Linked DNA regions of Homo sapiens: region 2 is linked to region 1. The links are contacts of gene promoters, found by promoter capture Hi-C in blood cells and fetal thymus (Javierre and others, 2016). All regions are on one chromosome and are shown on one strand. Each heading gives the region's core, a stretch centred on a gene start or on the middle of the fragment in contact. The rest is flanking DNA. Distances are from core to core; before and after follow the strand shown. Region 1 holds the start of SIGLEC10 (sialic acid binding Ig like lectin 10). Region 2 overlaps SPACA6 (sperm acrosome associated 6).

What was found. The method cuts DNA at HindIII sites, captures the fragments that hold promoters and counts their contacts. A CHiCAGO score of 5 or more calls a contact.
Region 2: a fragment that was not itself captured here is called in contact with the fragment with the promoter of SIGLEC10 in region 1 in 1 of 17 cell types (erythroblasts); the score reaches 5.1 in erythroblasts.

What each region holds. Positions count from the first base shown.
Region 1 is chr19:51,416,219-51,419,339 of GRCh38, forward strand. SIGLEC10 (sialic acid binding Ig like lectin 10) reads right to left here and starts at 1,424. Exons shown (of 11, transcript NM_033130.5): 1 at 1,327-1,424; 2 at 864-1,247; 3 at 448-732; 4 at 92-139. The coding sequence starts at 1,363. SIGLEC10-AS1 (SIGLEC10 antisense RNA 1) reads left to right here. Exons shown (of 3, transcript NR_164125.1): 2 at 211-512; 3 at 914-1,979. RefSeq lists enhancers at 1,354-1,523, 1,584-1,653. The HindIII fragment of the contact is 3,908 bases long and covers 1-1,862 here.
Region 2 is chr19:51,699,548-51,702,668 of GRCh38, forward strand. SPACA6 (sperm acrosome associated 6) reads left to right here. Exons shown (of 9, transcript NM_001316972.2): 3 at 2,111-2,179; 4 at 3,082-3,105. Among named protein-coding and RNA genes, the nearest start is that of SPACA6-AS1, 7.7 kb to the left of the region's middle. The HindIII fragment of the contact is 3,108 bases long and covers 1-2,964 here.

The DNA of each region.
Region 1 (3,121 bases), core at 174-2,673:
AGGGGTACAGGGAGGAGCACATCCCCTCATCCCCTGAAGCCTTTTCATCTAAAGACAACTGGCCCAGCCCCAGCCCGACGGCCCTCAGTACCTGGCGTGTTGTCACGTGAAATGCTGATAACAAGGTCTCTGGGGGCATCTGCAACAAGATTGTGAGCTGGCTTCAGGGAGGGACAATTTATTCCTCACACCTGGAAAAAACTCCCTCAGGGAAAAGAAAGTGGGACTATCCCGGGAAGACAAGTGACAACCAGCGCCAGGGCTCACGTGTGTGGACCAGACGCCATTCCCATCCCCCTCCCAGGGCTGCGGCGGCATCCTGGGACCCCACAGCTTCCTCTCCCTGGATGCTCCTGAGCTGGGAGCCGCTCACTGTCCCACTGGGCTCCTCCACCTCCCCACCCACCGGGGCTGTCTGCACACCCCACCCTCCCAGGCCACACTCACAGGCCACACGGAGTCGGACGGTCCTCTGTGCGCTCACACCCTTTCTGGAGAAGTCCACATGGCAGGTGAGGTCGGTGTTGTGGTCCTGGGGTCTGGGCGTGAAGCTGAGCACTGAGAAGTGGGAGGTCGTTGGTTTGGTTCCTTGGGAGGAGAGGGCAGCCCCCGTCCAGGAGAAAGAAGGGGGTGGACATTCCTCAAAGGCCCAGTTAAACACACAGATGACCGTCACCGGCTGCCCGGGCTCCAGGGTCTCGGGGATGTAGACATCAGGCTTCTGAGTCAGGGCTGGGACAGAGACCGTGGTGGGAGATTCTTGTGCTGCAGGGGTCCCTGAGAGCCCTCTCTGCTCAGCCCATAGGCTGTCCCCAGGGTCCCTCCCCAGTGTGAGAGGCAGGGGTTCCCACCCCATTCCATACCTGTTACTTTTAGAAAGAACCCATCGTTCATGAAATTATATCTCACATAGCTTCCTCTCTCCACCCGAAAGAAGTACTGTGACTCATCCTGCATCTGCGCGTCTCTGATCACCAAGGAGCAGTTCCCCTTGGCGGGATCCCCAGTGAGCTGGAATCGGCCCCGGGTGCTCATTTCCACCTCTCGACTCTGGTGGTTTGTGGCCACAGGAGCACCCTTGGTTGTCTCAGTCACTGCTTTGAACCAGTAGCCATAAGCTGGGGTAGACCCTGTCCAGTCCTGTCGGGGGTAGGAGAAAGAGCAGGGCACAGAGATGCACAGGCCCTCCGGCACCATCACTGACTCCTGCACTCGTATCCAGAATCTCCCATCCATAGCCTGGGACCCTGTGGGGAGACAGAGGCTCAACCTGCAACCCCAGCCCTAGCTCCGCCCCAGGTCCTTTCCGGCCCTTGGCCCACTCACCGCCCAGCAGCGAGGACAGCAGCAGTGGCAGTAGCATCTCCGCATAGGAGGCGCAGGGCCTGCCTGAGACAGGCCTGTTCTCTGGTCGTGCTGTGAGTGGCTCAGGGCTCTTGGCAGAAGGGGAAGCCGAAGGCGGAAGCTGAGCCCTGGGGCCTGATGCATGAAATGAGCTTCAGACGCTGAGCTCACAGAACTCCTTTGCCTTCCCCCACACTCTCCGGCCCACCTTGCCCAGTTGTCCTCTGGGTCTCCTGGGGGCCCAGCCTGGCCTTGGGCTTGTTGAGCTGGTCCTTCCAGAGCTCCCTGTGTAGGAGGAGAGGGCAGGCTTGTGTCTATCCTGGGGGCCTGGCTGGGGGTGGGGTAGTGGGGTGGGGGCTCTCCCTCTGGGCCCTGGGTCATCGGAAAAGCAGAAGTGAGAAGTCCACAGTGAGCTACCCTTATCTGGGCCACTGGTGGTGGAGGTGGTGGGTACAGGGGAAGGGACCGTTACTGGAGGGGGCTGGTCTTGTCAGGTAAAATGCAGGATGCCTGGTTAAAGCTTTCACAGACAATATAAAGTATTTTATTTTATGTTTTTTGGTATAAGTATGTCCGAAATGCTGCATGGGATATACTTATACCAGAAAGCAAAATAAATTTATCTGAAATTCAAATTAATTAATTAATTAATTATATTTTGAGACAGAGTCTCACTCTGTCACCCAGGCTGCAGTGCAGTGGTGCAATCTCTGCTTACTGCAACCTCCACCTCCCAGGCTGAAGTGATTCTCCTGCCTCAGCCTCCTGAGTCTGGGCTTACAGGCACGCGCCACCACGCCAAGCTAATTTTTGTATTTTTAGTAGAGGTGGGGTTTCACCATGTTGGCAGGGCTGGTTTTGAACTCCTGACCTCAAATGATCCACCTGCCTTGACCTCCCAAAGTGCTGAGATTACAGGTGTGAACCACCGCACCTGGCCTAAAATTCAAATTTAACTGAGCATGTTGAATTTCTTTTTTTCTAAATCTGGCCACCGTAGGGTGGTGTCAGCTCCACCTCTTCATGCTTCCTGGTGAGCTCACTGACCCTTGGTCCCCAGAAGCAGTCTCCTGCCCCAACCAGGCCCTAGTCCACTTCCCAGTCTCCCTTCCTCCTCTGTCATTCAATTGGGACACCCATTGGGATTAGAACACATATGTCCAAAGCTAATGCTGATGGGAAGAGTTTGAGGAAGGCGGGAGTGAGGGGCAGAGTGGGGGGAACAGACTAGGGAAGGGGTAATTTGCAATGAATGGAGTAAACTCTACAAGATGTTTTCCCCTCACTGAGCTCTTCCTGAAATGACTCTGTTTGGGTCACACCGAAACACAGAACTCATCCTTCAACCTCCACATACCTTGGGTATCAAGCACTGAGCTTTAGGGGGACTTGGAGGTGAATCCTCCATGGTGAGTCAGCTCCAGGGCCCCAGGTTAGCAAATGAAGATTCTTAGAAACAAAGTACAGAAGGTCCCCTAAATGAACTGGATGCTGGACAGACATTCAGGATGGGACCTGGGGAAGGAGTGGTCAGCTCTTCCTGGTGGAGGGAAGTCAGGAGAGGCCTCCTGGAGGAGATGACCCAGCCTCTGCCCTGTCCTGGTTCTTTCATCCATGGCATTTTTGTTTTTTGTTTTTGAGACAAGGTCTTGCTCTGTTGCCCAGGCTGGAGTGCAGTGGTGTGATCATGGCTCAGTGCAGCCTCCATCTTCTGGGCTCAAGCGATCCTCCCACCTCAGCCTCCCAACTAGCCGGGACTATAGGCACACACCACCAC
Region 2 (3,121 bases), core at 161-2,660, 280 kb after region 1:
TCTAGAAGTCTGAGACCAAGGTTTTGGTGTCAGCAGGGTTAGTTTCTTCTCACGCCTCTCTCTTTGGCTTGTAGATGCCTTCCTTCATATGTCCCTGTGTGCATCTCTGTGTCCTAATTTCCTCTTCTCATAAGGACACCAATCATACTGCATTACAGCCCACCCTAATGACCTCATTTTAACTTAATCACCTCTTTAAGAACCAAGTACAGTCACATTCTGAGGTACTGGGAGTTAGGACTTCAACATACAAGTTTGGTTGCGGGGGATGGGGGGTGGGCGGCACGATTTAGCCGATAAAACCCTGCCACATTACTGATTTCCACAAATCACCACGAGATCAAGTCAGCTGTCTATTCTTATTCCACTGGAACAAGCCACAAACCCATACAATTTGGAGGCCATTGCAGTGGTCAAAACACAAGGCCAGGCATGGTGGCCCACACCTGTAATCCCAGCACTTTGGGAGGCCGAGGCAGGCGGATCACCTGAGGTTAGGAGTTTGAGACCAGCCTGGCCAACATGGTGAAACCCCATCTCTACTAAAAATATAAAAATTCGCCGAGCATGGTGGTGGGTGCCTGTAATCCTAGCTACTGGGGAGGCTGAGGCAGGAGAATCACTTGAACCTGGGAGGTGGAAGTTGCAGTGAGCCAAGATCACACCACTGTACGCCAGCCTGGGCAACAGAGCGAGACTCTATCTCAAAACAAAACAAACACCTACAAAGACAAGGAACATAAAAGAGTAAAAGATGGGTAAATATAGAAGTGAATAGAGGCTGGGGACTATGGAGAAGTGGCCGGTGTGTGCCCCATTTCAAGGGAGTGACTGCTACCCATCTCCAGCTAATTGCTGCCTTATGGAAATGCGATCTCTGTGTTACAGCTCTTCCAACTTTGTAAAAAAGAGATGCCAAACGTTTTATTTGACATTCCAAATTTTATATGTTGGCAACTGGTTCATTTTCTTTTAAACACTTTCCAGGCCAAATATAACACATCCCAGGGATGGATTTGGGTCATAGGCCACCAGCTGGGGTCTCCAGTTCAAGTTGGATCCTGGAATTCATTGTACAAATACTTACTGAGCACTTCTAAGACTGAGGGCCCTCTCCAGGATCCAGAGGACACAGTGCTACAGAAGAACATGTTTATTTACTTACGAGACAGACATAAGTGATCATCATCTATATATAAATATATGTAATTGCAGACAGATGAGAGCTAGGAATGAAATGATTGCGATGAGAGACAAAAACAGGGAACTTGGTTAGATTTGTGGTGATGGAAGGATGATTAGGAGAAGGAAAAATGTGCTAAAAACAAGCCAGCATGTGCAAAGGCCCTGAGGTGCTAGGGAATGTGGTGGTTTTCATATTAAAGGAAATGAGGCCAGGCACGGTGGCTCATGCCTGTAACCCCAGCACTTTGGGAGGCTGAGGTGGGTGGATCACTTGAGGTCAGGAGTTCGAGACCAGCCTGGCCAACATGGTGAAACCCCATCTCTACTAAAAACACAAAAATTAGCCAGGCGTGGTGGTGCACACCTGCAGTCCCTGCTACTCGGGAGGCTAGGGCAGGAGAATCACTTGAACCCAGGAGGCGGAGGTTGCGGTGAGCCGAGATCGCACCACTGCACTCCAGCCTGGGTGACAGTGAGACACTGTCTGAATAAAATAAAATAAAGGAAATGAAAGGTGGGCAGTAGGGATGGGACAGGGAGGGAGGGGGAACTAGGCCAAACCATGTAAGACCTAATAGGCCTTGGTGAGGAATTTGATCTTTATCCTCCCCTTCTCCCCCCAACAAGCTACATGCAGGTGATGTCCAGGAGGACTTCCATCCTGGAGAGATTCAGGAGGCAGAAGAAAGGAGACTTAGGGACTTGTTAGCCTTCAACTACAGAGGGCGGGTGATGAGAAGAGGAGCAGAGAATATGGTAATGAGAGGGGTGAAGAGGGGCCAGGGAAGGGCAGATACCATGACAGTACGTCCTGTGAGCTAGGGCCAGCCTAGCCCTAGCCAGGCTAGATCAGAATGCAGGACCAAGGACCAAGCCCTGGGGGAAGGGCTTTACTACACAGGCCGTCCTCCCCTCCACTCTCCAGGATCCTTTGAGGTTGCCTTCCCTGATGCTGCGGAGAAAATGAAGAAGGTCATTACACAGCTTAAAGAAGGTAAAATACACTCCATCTCTCCTTCCCCAGACACACACACACACAATTAGAAAACCCCACTTTTGGCCGGGGATGGTGGCTCACGCCTGTAATCCCAGCACTTTGGAAGGCTGAGGCGGGCAGATCACTTGAGATCAGGAGTTCAAAAGCAGTCTGACCAACATGGTGATACCCATATCTACTAAAGATACTAAAATTAGCTGGGCGTGGTAACGCATGCTTGTAATCTCATCTACTCAGGAGGCTGAGGCAGGAAAATTGCTTGAACCCTGGAGGCGGGGTTGCAGTGACCCGAGATCGGCACTCCAGCCTGGGTGACAGAGCAAGACTCCATCTCAAAACGAAACCCACTCCTGAGACCCCCCATCCACTCCCCGTACAATCCCCTGGCCCCATCTCTGAGCCTCAGACCTTGAGGGACGACTATTTCCCCGCGTGGACCATTTTTGATCTGGCCCCGCCCCTTCGATGAAAGGTTTCGTCTCCAACTGAGCCCCTTTCCGGGACTACTACTAACCTGGCCACGCCTCTTCTCTAACTGGGCCACCACCTTAGCCTTGGTCTCCTGCAAGGATCGCCCAGGATCTAGCCCCGCCTCCTCGGTGGAATACACCTGGATTGCCCATCCCCATCAGGGCCTACAGAAAACCAGTGTGTTTCCCTCTAAACCCCAAGTAGAAGGCTGGCAGCAGTCCTGGGCCTGACCTCCTAGTGGAATGCTCAGGCTTGGCCCCGGCCCCAGGTGGAACCCAGCCGGCTTGACCCCGCCCCCAGGTTATGACGAAAGCTTGGCCCCGCCCCCTCGGAGCAATGCTTCGGGCCTTGTAACATTAGCTAGGGGAGCATCGGGCAAGGGTTCTTCCCATGACTGTAAGGTAGTGATGTTTCCTCTTCCTCCACAGCCCAGGCTTGCATCCCTCCCTGCGGTAAGGACTTCATCTA